3 separate regions of the Homo sapiens genome follow, and all the other regions are linked to region 2. Evidence: promoter capture Hi-C in human tissues and cell types (Jung and others, 2019). All regions are on one chromosome and are shown on one strand. The core of a region is centred on a gene start or on the middle of the fragment in contact, and the rest is flanking DNA. Distances in the headings are between cores, read along the strand shown.

The links. Contacts are between HindIII fragments. The study calls those that stand out against the background at their distance.
Region 1: a contact is called between a fragment that was not itself captured here and the fragment with the promoter of DAAM2 in region 2, in 1 of the 25 tissues and cell types used here (hippocampus).
Region 3: a contact is called between a fragment that was not itself captured here and the fragment with the promoter of DAAM2 in region 2, in 1 of the 25 tissues and cell types used here (hippocampus).

The regions. Positions count from the first base shown.
Region 1 is chr6:39,638,515-39,641,857 of GRCh38, reverse strand. It overlaps KIF6 (kinesin family member 6), which reads left to right. Exons shown (of 23, transcript NM_145027.6): 4 at 2,101-2,248. Among named protein-coding and RNA genes, the nearest start is that of KIF6, 85 kb to the left of the region's middle. The HindIII fragment of the contact is 5,196 bases long and covers 1-3,343 here.
Region 2 is chr6:39,790,850-39,794,002 of GRCh38, reverse strand. It overlaps DAAM2 (dishevelled associated activator of morphogenesis 2), which reads right to left and starts at 1,627. Exons shown (of 25, transcript NM_001201427.2): 1 at 1,538-1,627. The HindIII fragment of the contact is 10,904 bases long and covers 1-3,153 here.
Region 3 is chr6:39,659,619-39,663,000 of GRCh38, reverse strand. All of the region lies in intron 3 of KIF6 (kinesin family member 6), which reads left to right. Among named protein-coding and RNA genes, the nearest start is that of KIF6, 64 kb to the left of the region's middle. The HindIII fragment of the contact is 4,187 bases long and covers 1-3,382 here.

The DNA of each region.
Region 1 (3,343 bases), core at 243-2,742, 150 kb after region 2:
CACATATTAAAGACAGACATACTAGGACAACTGGCAGTGAGAAAGAAGATTTTAGCATAAAAAAGTAGACATAACACTTAGCAGATGCCAACGTAGTGTACTACCTACTCACTTTTCGTAGTCTATATCTATATCAAAATGAAAATATTAATTTGTGCTCTGTAGTTTTTTCCTTTTTTTTTTGTTTCCTTGGCAGTGGCTTTTTTTTATATATATTATACTTTAAGTTTTAGGGTACATGTGCACAACGTGCAGGTTAGTTACATTTGTATACATGTGCCATGTTGGTGTGCTGCACCCATTAACTCGTTATTTAACATTAGGTATATCTCCTAATGCTATCCCTCCCCCGTCCCCCCACCTCACAACAGTCCCCGGTGTGTGATGTTCCCCTTCCTGTGTCCATGTGTTCTCATGTTCAATTCCCACCTATGAGTGAGGACATGTGGTGTTTAGTTTTTTGCCCTTGCGATAGTTTGCTGAGAATGATGGTTTCCAGCTTCATCCATGTCCCTACAAAGGACATGAACTCATCAATTTTTATGGCTGCAGAGTATTCCATGGTGTTTTTCAAGACAGATAATGCCTAGAATATTTTACATCTATTCTTTCTATCAAGAATCAATAAAATGTTTAAGATTAGATATTTGAAATTTTAGACTTCATTTACCTACAGCATTTATGGCCAAGAAATATCATATATCCAAATGATATTGCTAATGGGACATCAATGTTTCATTGGTAACAAATTCTGTTGAGGAAAAAGATTCTGTAATTATATATCTAATTTTGTCATAGTTCCAACATCTTAGAAATTGAGAATTTCAACAGTATATTGTCTCCATGTAAAGACACACGAAGAAAAGTGATTACACTCCTCAAAAGTAGAACATTGAATCACACAGTTACAATACTTTCTTGCGCATTCCCTGTACTAAGTCCATTAAATTTGTAAGCACCAACAACACTTTCTACCTACACAGCAACAGATGCATTGACGTGTTGCTGAAGATATTATTGTTAGTTTAATAGTTGCATAAGGTGGTCATAAGTTTAATAGTTGCATAAGGTGGTCATAAGTGACCACTTCAGAATAATCTCCAGTCAAACCTGTGTGTTTTAGGAGACCCTTATAATGACAGATCACTCAACACACAGGCATGAAAGCATATGAAACATAGAACTGTAGATAGGATGTTGACAGAACTAATAGGGAGGAATTCTAATATGAACAGTGAGGGGTGAACTCAGAGGAGCCATCTATCAAAAAATCCACCCACAACATGGGGACCAATAGCTGATGTCATCGTAGCTAGTTTAATGAAAACATCTCAGAGATCAAGGAGCCACTTGTATCAAAAAACGAACATAAAGCTACAAAAGTTTACTGTTCCATGTAGCATAGATTAAAGACACAGTTTTGAAAGTCTACATCATTTCATGCATATTTATAAAAGCTTATATTACAGGTGGTGCTCTTCAAAGGCTGAGAAGATCCAGCCTTTGGGTTCTTAAGACCACCATCAAATCAAGGGCCGCTCTGCAGGGCTGAAGAATATATATGGACTAGCATCTTCTACCAAAAAGTCATTCCAAGAAAAGAGAAGAGGGGAATTCCTAGAGGATTTTCAGTTGGTGCTTAGTATTAAGTAGGGAATTACATTGCAAGGTATATGGTGGCAAGCAGAGTGTGTTCCTCCTGTTCTAGGAAGTAACTACTATTGTGAGTGTTTACACCATGTGAGGTACCAGGTGTCAGGTTGACAGTTTGCCAAATTACAGGTATTGTTTCCCCAGAACTTTTTTTCAATATATTCTTTGATTCAAGTCCAGTGTGTACTAAAAGATGAAGAATATATTTAAGATGACTGAACTCCATTTGTGTTGCACATCCTTTCTTAGAGAACAGGATTGATGTGCTGCTGTTCCTAGATAAAAATGTAAATTCTAGCTAGATATTCACATATATAAATTTTTAATAGATATTTCTATAAAGTTTTTTTAATAGTGTTTAATAAGATTGTTATTAGAATACAAGCCATTTAATTCATATGCAGTTAGCCATGTTGATATTGAAAGTGTGTCATTTCTTTATTGCAGTGTCCTGGCAGGTTACAATGGTACCATCTTTGCATATGGGCAAACAGGCAGCGGGAAGACATTCACTATCACAGGGGGTGCAGAGCGTTACAGTGACAGAGGCATTATCCCAAGGACACTGTCATACATTTTTGAACAGTTACAAAAGGTATGAAACTTTTCGTTCATATCATTTTGTATTTGATATATTCAGCAAAAATATACTGAAAGCAGGAAATTTATTATGACATGTATTTTATTGTGTCTAAATGATAAAGTCTTATTGTGTCATAACTTTGGCCTTTACCTTTAAGGAGAGGTTGGGATTTTGCTGTACAAGTGAAAATTAAGAAGGTACTTCTCATTAAAGGGCTGCTATTTCAGCAAAGGCTCAAGGACATTTCCTTCTGATATACGCACGAAGGTTGAAAGAGCAGACAACACCTTTTACCAACTAATATCTTATATTCCTCAAGAAACTGAGGAATGTCTTCTTATCAAAGCAGATCTTTCTTTTAGCTACTGAAACACTAAACAGGATAGTATAATTGTTACTATTTTACACTTGATAGAAGCCCAGAGGAATTTACCAAAGTACAAATACCGTTGTAATTATTACCATTGTAAAAAAGGGTTATCTATCTAGATTATATGTATCATTTATTGAGTGCCTCAAAATGCCAGTAGCTTTATCAGTTTTACCAGTATTTGATATAACATATAATGCAACTTCCCATTTCACAGTTGGGAATACTGAGCCTCAGGTTAAATATTTTCCTCTGGGCCCACATCCTGTAAGTAGCTGATCTAGAGTTCTATCCCAAGTCCACCTGATGTCTAACTCTGTGCTTTGTGCCATTATGTATATTGCTTCTATACCTCGGACTGGCTTTATTTTGTTGGTTATGTTCAAACAAATTCCCCGTAATGAGTCACATACCTTCTCTGAGTTTCGGTTTTCCCTTCTGTGAAAGCAGAGATTGAATTGTATTAGAGAATCTCCAGTGTCCCTACTAGTTCCAGCAATTCCTTGGTTGTATTACTTCTGTATAATACATGTCTTAACTAGGTCAATATAACAGTCACTCCAAAATTTCTTGACTGTATATTGTTTGCATTTTGAGTTGCAAAGATGAGAAGAAATTGCTGAGATCTGCATAATTCTAATTGCCATCCATAAAGTAGCAATTATCCATTAGTTCAGCTCATCTTTCTCTAGCTCAAACATGCCAGCTTTGCATGCCAGAAAATTTGGATGAGAAAG
Region 2 (3,153 bases), core at 378-2,877:
TGTGGGTCTGTTTTTACATCCAGATTTCCTCCCTGTCCCTTCATTTTCTCATTTTTCTAGGACAGAGGGAGAGTCCAGTAATCTTCCTCCCACCCAGACATTGTAGGTTGGCTCTACTGCAAAATACAAAACCAGAGACCTGGCTAGCTCAAAGCTGAAAATTCAGTCTGTCTGTGGTCACTCGTTTGTGGAACCCAGCTATTGACAGGCAGTGCCTGGCACTGTGCTACTCAGGGATGATGGATCGATACAGCCTCACTGCTGCTTTTTTCCCCTACTCTCCGTGGAGCACACTTTCCGCCCTAGGCCCTAGGGAAAATCCATCCCCCGCTTCAGCTGGCTTTGCAAAGAAACTCAGGAAACTAACACCAAACTCAGAAGGGGGAAAACACAAGACTTTGAACTTTTTAAAGATGGGAAGCTGCTTTCATTCCCACGTGGGCATCAAGGGAAAACCTATGGGGACTCTTTTCCGGAGAGGTGTGATTTTCCTCTAACCCTCCGAGAAACGTTCCAAATCCACTCCAAAACTGTGGAGAAGTGGCCGAGGCAGAGAGAGAAGAGTTAAATCAAGCCCAGATCTCAGCAATCTGTGTTCAATTTTGATAAAAATCTCCCTCTCCCCCACCGCCCCCCTTCCTCCACCCCACAGCTCAGACACGTCTCTTTATGTTAGGAGCTTGCATCTTGTTTGGGGCACCACACGCGGCACTCCTGGAGAACCTGGCACGTACCTCACCGTGGCCATGTGGCAGAACCAACCATCCCACTCCCAAGCTACGGCTGGACACAGGGCCACAGCGTCCTGGCCATCACCACCACCTCCCCCTCTTCCTTCTCATCCTCTTCACAAAATTACCTGCCGCCAGACCAAGTCCCTCATTCCCCGGTTAAGTCAGAGTCCCGACGCCTGGTAAAGTCAGGGCATGAGGTTGGTTTGCGACCGCAGGTGCTGAGAGCCCCAGAGTCCGGGGACCCCTTTCCTGAGATGCTCCTTCCCCCGCCCAGGGTCCCACTGCCACTGAGAACAAGAACCTTACGGCTGCCCTGCCCACTGGCCAGAGGCCAGGCCTGCAAGTGGGAGCTGGGGGCTTGTGAAGACTTCAGCCCAGCCAAGTGAAGGTTCAAGCCGAACCCGGAAAAGCCACCACCAAAAAGTTGTCAGTTTTGCGGGGTATCTTCTGTGTTTGTCCACTTGTGACAACCAGGGGTCAGGTTTCAAAGCCGCAAAAAACATTTTTAAAAAGTTTTCCAAAGACATTTCCTATGTCCAGATGTGCCAGTACAGACACACGCAATCACACTCATACACACACACAACTCACACACACACAGGCCCTGGGAGCCCACTCCGGGGTCGGCGGCTCCTGCAAACACTTTGGAGAAACAAAACCGCCAGCCTGCGGAGCTGCTGCCTCCCCAAGCCCCGCGGGGCATGCTAAAGAAAGCAGAGGGAGAGAAGTGTGGGAGCCCAGCGGAGAGGGCTCCCCGCGGCCCGGGCCCCAAGACGGGGAGCGCCAGGGCCGGCCGCACTTACTCCGAGGACCCCAGGGCGCCCGCGCTCCCGCAGCCCGAGGTACGGCGCCGCCGCCCGCGCTCCGCTCGCTGCTGCGTGCTCCGCGCTATCCCCGGGAAGCCGCGGCTGCCGCCCCTCCAGGCCCGGCCTCGCGCCCGTCCGCCCGCCCCGCTCTGACGTCAGGCGTCTTGGAGCGGGATATTTATGGCAAGGTTACTCTGAATTTTCCCTAGGTAGACTTCTGATTGCAGTTTCTTGGGATTTGTAATTTTCACACTTTCAGACCGAACGCAGGCGGGGGGAGAGCGCCACCGGCAGGGCGAGGCGTACAATGAGGGTAGCTGTTCCCCACTTTGGCAGGGAGCGTTCTCAGGGCCCCTTCTGTTTTGGAAACATGGAAGGGTCAAAGAGGCAAAAGTGGCCACCTGGGCAGCGGGTTTCTCCCCGGCTCCTCCTCTGGGCTACGGGCAAATGGCCTGGTCTGAGGCCGGCTCGGAGGTGAAGGTCCCGGTGCCAAGGAATCCCCTGTCCCTCCCCAAAGTGTCCCTGCACTGGACAGTGTGTCCCAAGGGGTGCTGGGCAAGACAGGAGCGAAATCAGGCACAACAGAACAGCTAATTAGGAGTCCTGGTCCACGCCCTAACAACTTTTCCATTTCTTTTTTGGGAGTGTATATATATTTTTTTAAGTTTATTTTTATTAAATTATGTTCCACACTCCCTGCCTCTGTATAGCTTTTCCAATTCAGTGCCAGTCAATTCATCTTACTTCATTGCTTGTATGCATAGTTTGAGCAGTTTACAATAGCTCTTATTCATACTTTTAAAATTTCCTTTTAGTTTTTTTTTTTCTTTTTTTTTTAAATGTGATTGTGGTCTGTCTCCTTGACTGAACTAGAGATTGCTTTGGTCAAGAGCAATTGTCCTCTCTGGGATTGGCAACACCCTCACGGGGAGTATTTGATCTTCTCTGTTTCCTATTTTCCCCAGCTCCCTCTGCAAGCAAATGGTGCCCCCACTGGGTGATGACCTGTATACAGTTTTCTGGGTGTTCAGTGGTTGTTCTGTGTTAGTGGTTGTCTGTTTCTCCACCTCACCAAAGGGGCTTAGGGAAATGGCTTGGTTTAAGGGCCACCCTTCCAGAGAAAAAAAGAGAATGTAATGCATGATCTTCCAGAGGAAAAAAAAAAAAAAAAGAGAATGTAATGTGTTATCCTTCATGGTTCCCAAGGATTGGAGAATGAAATGAACTTAAAATGATACACGTGAGATGCAAAATACTTATATGGTTAGACAACATAAGTGTTTAGGTATTCATCTCACCATGAATGGGAGGGGGCACGGATAATTGCAAATCATCATTAAAACACAACTATAGTGAACTTTCCATTAGCCCAAACTGGTAGAGGCGGGGTTGTGTTTTAACCACAGTTACAGTGCAGCAGGGACTCAAGGACTTGGAATGTGTTTACCTCTTTGGCAGCAGCTGGTTAGAGCTGATTGCCAGAAGGAGCTGTCTTAGGGCTGGGCCTCTCGGTAGAGGCCACGCTGTTTTGACCCAAGCCACCGAGGGCCCTGCAGCAGGGAGCTGCTGTTTGGTCACTGTGGGATTGCTCTCCCTGGCATAATACCCCACTT
Region 3 (3,382 bases), core at 61-2,560, 130 kb after region 2:
ATCAATTGAGTCTGTGAGGTTGAGGCTGCAGTGAGCCATGATGGTGCCACTGCACTCCAGCCTGGGCAAGACCCTATAAAAAAAAAAAAGAGAGAGAGAAAAGAAGAAAAGAAAAAAAGATACTAAGCTGAAGTTGAATAAACAACTCCATGTGGACGCGTATTTTTGACTATGTGTGTGTGCAGACAATTTTTGGCTCTGAAGACATTGGGGTACGCCAGGCAGAGAAACACCTTGCTTTTGTGGATCTTGTTTTCAGTTTGAGTATTTTATTATTCAAGATAATTTTTTTTGAGATAGGGGCTCAGTATATTGCCCAGGTTGTTCTCAAACTCCTGTACTCAAGCAATCCTTCTGCCTTAGCCTCCAGATAAATCTTTAAAAGGACTTCTTACATTGGGTTTCGAATTGATATTGTCTCTATAAAAGCTGTGTGTTCAAACACCTACTTCAACCTACAAATCTTATGAGACTATTTTTACATTTAGTTATTATATAAGAATAGTCTCTTTCATTTGTTACCCTATTAACATTTGATTAATTCAAATTTAACAGTTGAAATTTTCCTAAACAATTAATTACAATTCTAATTTAGCTAATTAAATTCCCTTAAACATTTTAAACCTCATTTACACATGTAATGTATGTGACTGTCTCAAACACCTCAAATGCCTTGTGGGGCAGACTTACAAACCTAACAAATCATTTTAAGCACATAGCAACTTAAAAAATAGTAAGCAAACATATACCCATAGTAAATCAGCCTCTCTTAACATTTTAATGCTATTTCCAAAATTGAATCAAATGTACTTACACCACTTAATATCCCAAATCTGGAATTGATTATATGTTTTAAATTAAAGTCATAATATTTTTAAGTATTTCAAACTCTTTAAATAAAACAACTAGAATGGCCCAATGATATGAAAAGTACACTTAAATATATTCTATAATGTTATTAAGAGTATGGGTTTGATTTACTTTATCTCTATTCTTAATTATTTAAACTTTCCTGGGGTGCCAAGGTCTCCAGTACAATTAAAGTAAGCAGTTTTACCATCCATGGATGGCTGAGTATACCAGGTTGAAAAATCAGAATATCAGTATGATGAATTATTGGTCAGAGACTGACCTGATTTGTATTTTTCAAAGATGGCTCCTGGTTGCTAAGTGGAGAAGGATTGAGGGAGGTTAGAAGGTATCCATCTGGTAGTGACCCTTTTGTTCTGTGTAACTCTTCAACGGCTTTTCACGGAAAGGGCCTTTATTTTGTTCTCCCAGGGTACTCCTTATTAGCTCCCAAGGCTCTGTTCCTTCTTGTACCTCTCTTTTCTGCTATGGCCCTACTTCTTTCCCCGCTACTGCATGCCCTTTTAACTCCTTTTCTGATGTTTGATTTTTATTTCCTCTCAGTTTTACTACCATAGGTAGAATGGGATGCTTACATTCTTGGGGTAGAGGAAAGTTGGTCCCCAGGAAGAGAATGAGTTAAGGGAGAGAGAGAGAAAAAAAGAATGAATTCTTTACACATAGGCAATAGACACAGAAAAAAATCTAAAAGTGTACATAGCATATGTTAACCTGGGTTATCTTTGTGGAACATTATGGAGTACTTAACTTTGTGCTGTATGACATGATGTGTTTTTGACAAAGAACATATACTATTTCTATAATCAGTTAAATAAAAATAATTATGAGAAATGCAAATCAAAGGATTAGTGTGGCAATAAAATCAGAAAAATAGAAGTGAATCTTGGTGAAGAATTGAGCCTAACCATTTAAAAAATTATTATTATCAAATATTTTATCAATGCATAATTGTAGAGTAAAAATTGCTTTTAAAATAGCAGAATTTGATGTGTCTTTTCAGCCTGGTTGTGAGTTATAGTCACTGTGAGTAGGTTCATTTTGAAACAGTATCAGCTTTTCAGAGTGATTGATTCCATAGTGCAATAATTATGGTCTTATGGAAGTAAGACCAATTTGGATTTTGCAGCTCTCAGGGAAAAAGCAGCAGTGCAATAAACAAACATGTAAGCACCAGATTTTTGTGTGAAGCACTGCAAGGTGATTTCATGGGGACTCACAGGCAGTGAAAAGGAAACTATTACTTGCCTTAGAAAACTTGATATAATTATGGAATAATCCATAATGGCTTTGTTGACCAGAATAATTATATTTTAACTTTTGATTTATTTAGAAAGAAAATGGACGCTTCTGGATCACATTAATCTATTTTGTTATTTCACACTCATGTTAGTATTTTGAAGTTGCTGTAAAGTTTTTTATGAGGGGCACAGTGCTGACTGTGCTTAGACTGACAACATTCATCTCACTGAATCGAATAAATTGAATATTGGGGCTCCTTAGCTCAAAAAAAAATTTAGCTTTTGAAAGACTGTTTTGGATGACCCAGAAAAAAAAGGTAGAGGATTTCTGCTGTTGAAGGAAAGCTTCATTGACAAGATTGTGTGAGCATTTTATGTATCTGAACTTAGCAAGCTATAACTTCAAAACCTCCGAAGGGACATTGACAACACAACTAGACAGCTTATACCCCCATAGGTAGTTACTCACCCACTATGCTGAGATGATTTGATGATACCTCAAGCGGTTGAGAAAGATTCTGTGCTTAGGACTTCCCACCCAAGTATACACTAGCTTGTATACTCCGTATGAACTGTGACAGCACATGAATTTTACATGCATCCATTATATTGTACCTAGAACATTGCTGTGGAAAAAGGGGCACCATAAATGTCTTTTGCTATGAATGCATGAAGAAATAGATGCTTGAGGGAATAAATAATACAACTTCAACACATTTTTTATTGGAAATTTTTAAAAATTATTTTAGAGACAGGGTCTCACTCTGTTGCCCAGGCTGGTTTCAAACTCCTGAGCTCAAGCAATCCTACTGCCTCGGCCTCCCCAAGTGCTGGGATTACAGGCATGAGACACCATGCCAGGCCAGATTGGAGATTTTAATGAAACATATTATACTACATATATAAACTTATGGATAAATTTAATATGGCTAGGTTGGCCAGTTCTCAGCATGGCCAAATTTAAGCCATTTCTTTGAGGCTAAGTAAATCATTCAAAGTGAAATTTTACTGATTCAGATTTGTTGTGCTGATCAACCATGACTTGATGTATTAGTCCATTCTCACACTGCTGTGAAGAAATACACAAAACTGGGTAATTTATAAAGGAAAGAGGTTTAATTGACTCACAGTTCTGCTTTTGCTGGGAAGGCCTCAGAAAACTTACAATCATGGCAGAAGGCGAAGCAAACATGTCCTTCTTCACATGGTGGCAGGAGAGAGAAGTGCCAAGCAAAGGGGGAAAAGCCCCTTATAAAACCATCAGATCTTATGAG